2 separate regions of the Homo sapiens genome follow, and region 2 is linked to region 1. The links are contacts of gene promoters, found by promoter capture Hi-C in blood cells and fetal thymus (Javierre and others, 2016). All regions are on one chromosome and are shown on one strand. Each heading gives the region's core, a stretch centred on a gene start or on the middle of the fragment in contact. The rest is flanking DNA. Distances are from core to core; before and after follow the strand shown. Region 1 holds the start of QTMAN-AS1 (QTMAN antisense RNA 1). Region 2 overlaps QTMAN (queuosine-tRNA mannosyltransferase).

The links. The method cuts DNA at HindIII sites, captures the fragments that hold promoters and counts their contacts. A CHiCAGO score of 5 or more calls a contact.
Region 2: a fragment that was not itself captured here is called in contact with the fragment with the promoter of QTMAN-AS1 in region 1 in 1 of 17 cell types (megakaryocytes); the score reaches 5.6 in megakaryocytes.

Annotation. Positions count from the first base shown.
Region 1 is chr2:143,934,897-143,938,351 of GRCh38, reverse strand. It overlaps QTMAN-AS1 (QTMAN antisense RNA 1), which reads right to left and starts at 1,285. Exons shown (of 3, transcript NR_110237.1): 1 at 716-1,285. It overlaps QTMAN (queuosine-tRNA mannosyltransferase), which reads left to right. Exons shown (of 12, transcript NM_001376312.2): 12 at 1-284. RefSeq lists a silencer at 784-983 and an enhancer at 1,178-1,861. The HindIII fragment of the contact is 2,667 bases long and covers 1-1,981 here.
Region 2 is chr2:144,142,978-144,146,453 of GRCh38, reverse strand. QTMAN (queuosine-tRNA mannosyltransferase) reads left to right here. Exons shown (of 12, transcript NM_001376312.2): 5 at 715-882. Among named protein-coding and RNA genes, the nearest start is that of QTMAN, 190 kb to the left of the region's middle. The HindIII fragment of the contact is 880 bases long and covers 1,506-2,385 here.

The sequences.
Region 1 (3,455 bases), core at 36-2,535:
CACCTTCTGTGGAGAATTCGGGACACGGTGGAGTTTAACCAGTATCTTAAATCCCAGGGACAGGGTGGAGATTGCTTTGTGATCCTGATTAATTAAAAGGAAAGAAATCAAAGCAGACATCTCTCCTTTTTCCATTTGAGCCGCAGAGCCATGGAGGGGAACTTGTGCTCTCTGGTGCTTGCAGCTATGTTCCCTGGCTTTCATCGTCTTGGCTTTTCCCCTTGTATTTCTAATGCTGTGATACCAGGCCAATAAAATGGAATCTACAAAACTGCAAAACAAAATTGTGTGTATGTGTGTGTGTATTAGAATTTTACTGAAGATAATTGCAACACTTTAAGCACAAAATTTTTAACTTAAAATGTATGAGTAATGAAGTTTTAAGAAGCAAAATGTGCTCAAGCGGAGTATTTGTAGTCCCTTTTTTGTAAGAGGTTCCCCAGACCTCTGGGTGCATCAGCAAACTGTCCTACACGATGGAGCGTGCAGCTGCAATTTGGCCCCGGGCACCACCTATCCAGAGTTACTACCTAATGCATTTTACATTTGCACACATTGTCAAGGGGTGGGGGGCAGCTAAGAAGGGGCCTCCCCCCCACCCCCCAGCGTTCTGTTTCCTTTTGTCGCGGCCGTCAGCTGACACGTGGAAAATGTGGTGTACGGTTTTGTTTGCCTTTTATCTGTAATTAAGGATCCCTTGTCTGGGGCTTGCTACCTCTTTTCTTTCTGCCTCCCTGCCGCTCGGGTCTTCCGCCCTCGGTCAGGTCTGGCCTGGCGCACCGCAGCCTGGGGACTCCGGGTCGCCGGGCGGAGAAGCAGGCAGTGGGCGCAGGGACCTCCGCGGAGCCCGGCGCTCGCCTGCCGAGAGAGCGCACGCCCCGGCACGCCGGCCCCGGCTCGCCCGAGCCCCCGACCAGCTAGTGCCTTGCGTCGGGGCAGCTGCGCCCGCGTTGCCCAGAGCGGGTCGCCTTGCCGCGCGTCCGTTCCCTCCACACCGCTGCGCCTGAGCGGCCAGCGAGCCCGAGCTCCGGTCTGCGGCGGCGCCCGCCCTCGACGCCTAGCTCAGTCTCGTCCAGAGCGGTGGGGGGAGTTTTCTGCACCTTTCAGGCGCGGGAACATGTCGAGGGACGGGGGAGGACGTTGAGGTCACGAAGTCATCACCCACTCCTCTCGGCTGCGTGGGCGCTGCGGGAGCGCAGAGCCGGAGCACGAGGGGCTCGTCCCAGGGCGCGGGCCCCGCCAGCCCCTGGCGCTCCCACCCGCGCGCACTCCCTCGCACACCCGCGCTGGCACGCGCACCCTGGCGCGCGAACTCCCTGCCACGCGCGCGCTGTCACGCACACACACCGGCACGCACCCGCCACGCTCGCGCCGACACTCCCAGGCTGGCACACGCACACGCGGTGGGGACCCACCCCTGCCCGGGTTTGGCTGCGCCGGGCTCGCGTGCTCTCTCTCGGGCACCCCCGGGAAGGGAGCGCAGCTCGGTGGGCCGGCACCCTGTGCTTTATGCGTCTGAGGATTTCATTGAACTCGGTTCCCTGAGTCGGCCAGGCTCAGTCCTCAGCGAGGGAATACGATGAAGACGCACTAAGCAAAACCAGAAACACCGATGCCTACTACCTTTTCAAAAAACATAACTTGCCCTCAGCAATCCCGCGAAGGGGAGTGGGGATGGGCACGGGGACTCTCCGAAAGGGATTTTATCTACACAGTTTAGAATAACTCCTGTCTCTGGTATGTTCGGATATGTGATTTAAATCTCACCCCCCGGACGCTTTCTTTTTCACTTCACACCTGTATATTGAAATACAAACCTCATTTCTCCTCCTCACCACCAACTGGTTATTTAGGAGGAGTGGAGAAGAGGAGTTAAGCAATATTGGGGCAGGAGAATATTTAGAAGCATTACATTGATTTGTCACTCATTTGCTCTGATTAGCTTTTTGAAAACTTGTGAAGATATTCCTATTTTGAAGCTTGTATTTTGTTAAAAGCCTCCCTCACACTGCCGTGATTTATCATTATTTATCTGAGTATACACACGTATGTATAGGAGAAAAGGAATGCTGATCCTTCCTGATTTCAGCAGTGCCGTTTTCCTTTCTATCCATGTGGTTTTAGCATAATTTTCTCCCTCTTTCTCACCAATAGAGATATTATAGTACGCAAAAGCAGGGCACACCTGTGACCAAATACAAGCAACATTAGCCTGGAGTGTTTGCGAATACTCCTTGTCATCTGTCGCTCAAGATTTCCCCCCTCAGATTTGAAATATTCCCCAAACTGGTTTAAAGGTGTGAGCGGGTGGGTTAACACGTGAGAGCAGTCCAAAAGTAAAGCGAGGTTGGGAGAGGGTGGCCTACATAAACCAACTCTTGGAAGGCTGAACAAGAACGCATGGGAAGTGCATTAAGAAGAGACTGTAAACAATGATAATCAGGGCTTTCAAAAATCATAAAACGGATTGAAATATCTGATTCATTATTTATTCATCACAGCGCAACTTTGCGAATCTGAGAATAGTGTTTGGAAACCAAGTGCCTTCTATTTAGTACATCAAATCAGCAGATGGGTCTCCCTTCCAAACTGCGGCTAAAGGGTTAAAGCTATAATTTTAGAAAAGAATCTTAGGAAATGACACTCAGATCTAATATATTTCCTTTTCTTTCTGGCAATAATATCCCCCAAAGAATAAATATATACTTATTGATATCATGATAATGTTTCTCATTCTGAGTACAAGTGTCAGACTGATTCCCGTTTGTGTAAGTGTTTTTAAAACTGCGAGGACACTTTCGCTACTCTGAAAGCTGACGAGCCAATGAAGGGGAGCTTCTTTTAACTCCATAATAGCAGGTTACATAGTAAATGAACACTGATGGTCAAATAGCCAATTATGGTATAAATATCCGTTGTTTACAGAGAGGTGTTAAATGAGCCTTGGAGTACAAGGGATTAGGCCGATCTATGCTACAATTTGTTCTTCAACCCATTATGTCTTCCCTTTAAAAGGCCAGTGCCATTGTAGGTAGTACGCACACAGAACATACTTCTCTATGTTGATTTTAGTTTGCTTTATTTCGATGCACACTGTTGTTTACTTTTTAAAATTTAAATAAATGTCAGCATTGTATAATTTCTATGTTAACAAAGCAGTGAGCAAAATCCCTTGTATGTTTATAAAATATTATTGTTTAATTCACATAGTTTAGAAATTCCAAATGTTGAGAATAGGAAGGAGGCCAAATACCATCTGTTTATAACTATGATGCATCGTAATATGTGTACTTTTAAAAGGAGTTTGGTCAATCATGCCACTATTTTATCTGCTCGGAATATGTTGGAGATTTAAAATGTAATTTACAGGATTACTTTTAGTGCGTTGCATCCAACTGTGAGTTGTAAAGAAATCGGTCTCTTCTGTTTTTCTCAAATTAATCATGTAACAGCCC
Region 2 (3,476 bases), core at 696-3,195, 210 kb before region 1:
ATAGGCAAGCTTTCAGTTTCCCTTTTTCCCTTAAAAATGAGGAATCAGCCTTTCATAAAATTTTTATATTTGTGCTTTTTAAGGGATTTTACAGATGATGCATCTGGTACCATTAGCAGTCCAGTAATGGAGAAGAAAAGATGTTTTTAAAAATACAAGTATTGTAAGATACTTTACAAGTGAGGGGAGGGTAAGAAAACATGCCAAGAGAAAAAGACCATACTAGATAAGTCTATTGCATAAATCAAAAGAGTTTATGTCATAACATGAACATGTGCCATTCCTGCTCATACATTGAATTTCAGTAGTTGGTTGCATAAAGAAGGAAAGTGTAATGAAACTGGCAAGCAAAGTATTCCGCAGTCAGTCTTATCTTTGTTCCATTTGTCCTTCAGATAGAGCTTTTCTTGCCTTTTTCAATAAAATCCATCCGGCTTTTTTTTTTTTTTTTTTTTTTTTTTTTTTTTTTTAACATTTCTCAGTAACTGCACTGAGAAGACCAGTGAGATTCGGGGACTTTATAGTTCTAAGCAGCTGCTTTTTAAGAGATCAAAACTTAGAATGCTGCTACATGGTATTAAGCCTCAACTATTGATGTGTCCCTATAGGGGATGTGTTTTTCTTGGGGTGGGAAGAGGAAAGAGGAGAGAAGAGCAAAGCATGATCCCTTCAAACATACTTGGGACAGTAAACCCCAATTTTCTTGTTTCCTAGGACCCTCTTTGCAAGTTCAGTGCTTAACCTGACCGAACTGGCTGCCCTTCGGCCTGACCTTGGGAAACTGAAAAAGATTCTGTATTTTCACGAGAACCAGTTGATATATCCTGTCAAGAAATGTCAGGAGAGGGATTTCCAATATGGATACAACCAAATTCTTTCATGGTAGGTATGGATTGTATCATTATATTTGGCCCTTTGCTACCTTTTTCTTTGTAGGTGGTTACGTTTTAAATCTGGAGACCTACTATTGTACACCTTTTTTTAAAACACCATAAGGTAGGTGCAAATATTTAAACAATTCTTCCTTCTGCAGTATATGTAAGATCACAACTAATCATTTTATAAAAATACATATATGTAACAATCTAATTATATGTTGAGCTAATTATCTATTTTTCACAACATTCAAAATAGAATTAAAAGGTTGGCAGGGACCTTCACCCCTTGATTTCATGATCTATTGCTTAAGGCATTTAGAAAGTGCAGTTAGTCAACTCTTACTTATTAATCACGATCACTGTATTCAGCTAAAATCAAAATAGAGTTTTACAGAGAAGTAAAAATTAAAGCATAATGGAGCAACTTGGGGTTTTGTCTCCCCCGCCTTTTTTTTTTTTTTTTTTTTAAATTGTAAGACAGAGAAGACTATGGACAATGAATCCTTAGGTAGTGTTTTCTTTTTTCCTTCGTTGAGTCTTCTGAAATGGCACAGCCTTAAAATACCATGACATTTTAAAGGTGATGGTCCTCTATTGTTACTTCGACAAAGTGTATCTCCTGAAGCTTAGTTAATGAAAGAAGTTAATAACAATTCTGAAATGGCTTTGCTATTGGATCCTATTCACATAACTGCAACAGTCAAACGGAATCTGTTTGTCAGTGATTTTGTACATTTTATTTATCTTTATTAACAGCTATTAGCAACTGGGTTTGATGATGTATTTGAACAGACCCGCAATTCTTGCAAGAATGTTTCATAGTTTAGTTGACATAGAAAAATGGCTATATAGTAATAATTCTGTGTTGTGTGCATTTTGTGAATGTTTTCCTACAATCATTTTTACAAGCTGCTTCAATTGTGAAGTAGCAGTGCTATCAAAATAGAGTGCAACTGCTTCACGTCAAATGTCTCATAAAAAAAGCAGCCGTTTTAAAATTTCATAATAAAATTAAAATACTTTATATTGAAACAGAGAAGGAAAATATGTTTTAAAAATGAAAATAAAATCATTTTGTGCTTTATCAATATGGAAAACATTTGTAATATTCTTTTGATTTCTTGAATTAGCATCATTCTTTTCCTCAGATAGTGTGTTTATTACCCCTGAGAAATCATTGGGAAAAAAACTAAGTCTATTTTTTCCTTTATGGGTGGCTTTAAAGTTAATGGAAGTTACATCCACTCATATCAGGGAGGAAATGTACCAAAAAGGATATTTCTGTAAACTATCTTGGATCTTTAATTTAGCATAGACTGGATTTTTAAGAATGTAAGTCATTGGGTCACATGCCGTTTGAGGGAAGCTATCTAAAAACAATTCAGCTCTCGATTCCTCCTCACTTTCATAAAACATTGTTTTTGCTGATAGGGAATGAGACTATAAAAGTTTTGTACATGATTTTTCAGCATTGCTTTTCTCAAGAGGGTAAACTTATAGACAAGCTTGGAGAGAGAGAAGTGTACTTCATCATCAGTTGGCTTCTTAATGGGGAAAAAATGGTTCACAGTTGTCCAGAGGAAAAATAAGAGTGTCAAAAGGCAGTCCTGTTCAGATTCTCTTTGAAAAGTATGACTCCTGCTTCCTCAAATGTTTCTTTAGTTTTCTTGCTGACTTCTGCTTTTTTTGGCACTGTCAGATTTCTTTCTGGACTGTGTGGCAGTTAAGGACTTTAAAGATGACTGACATAAGCACTCACCTTAAACAGTGATTTCACTAACCCTCTGACTTATGAACACATGTCACAACTATATATTATGACCTGTAGGTCACTATTACAATATGTGACATATGGTGAAAACAAGACTAGCTGTAAAACATCCTTCAACTTTTGGTATATTATTATATTAGCTTCCTTATTGCTTAGTGTTGTGTCAGCACTTCTGTGACATTCCTTTGTATTGTTCGTGTTGTAATCACCCACACCCCCCAAATTTGCACTAGGTAGCAACTAATAAACAATACTTGTATAGAAAATCAGTTTTTTTCAAGGGATGCACGGAAGTAGCAGGCCAACACTCTTTTTGTTCATTTTTTATTCTGCTAGATATTAACATTGTAATAGTAAATTTGGCTGTCTCAGCAAATATGACTTAAACTAAACTGACGTTTGGCTACGGCATTCCTATTCTATAAGCTCTACTTATTCTGTGGTGTTCTGCAGTCCTGTGGACATAACATGTCTTCTTTCCAGTAGTATTGATCTATCATTTTTAGGGTGGAATAAAACCAATTGCTTTATCCCTTTAATCTTGTATACAGATGTTCCTCAACTTACGATAGGATTACAGCCTGGTAAACCCATTATTGTGAGTTGAGAATATGATAAGTTGAAATGCATTTAATACAACTAACCTATCAGACATCATAGCTTAGCCTAACCTACCTTCAACATATTCAGAATACTTACATTAGCCTACAGTTGGGCAAAATCATCTGGCAGCACAGGCCACTGTAGAGTATTGGTTGTTTACCCTTGTGATCATGTGGCTGACTGAGATTTGTGCCTCACTGCTGCTGCCTAGCATCGTGAGAGAA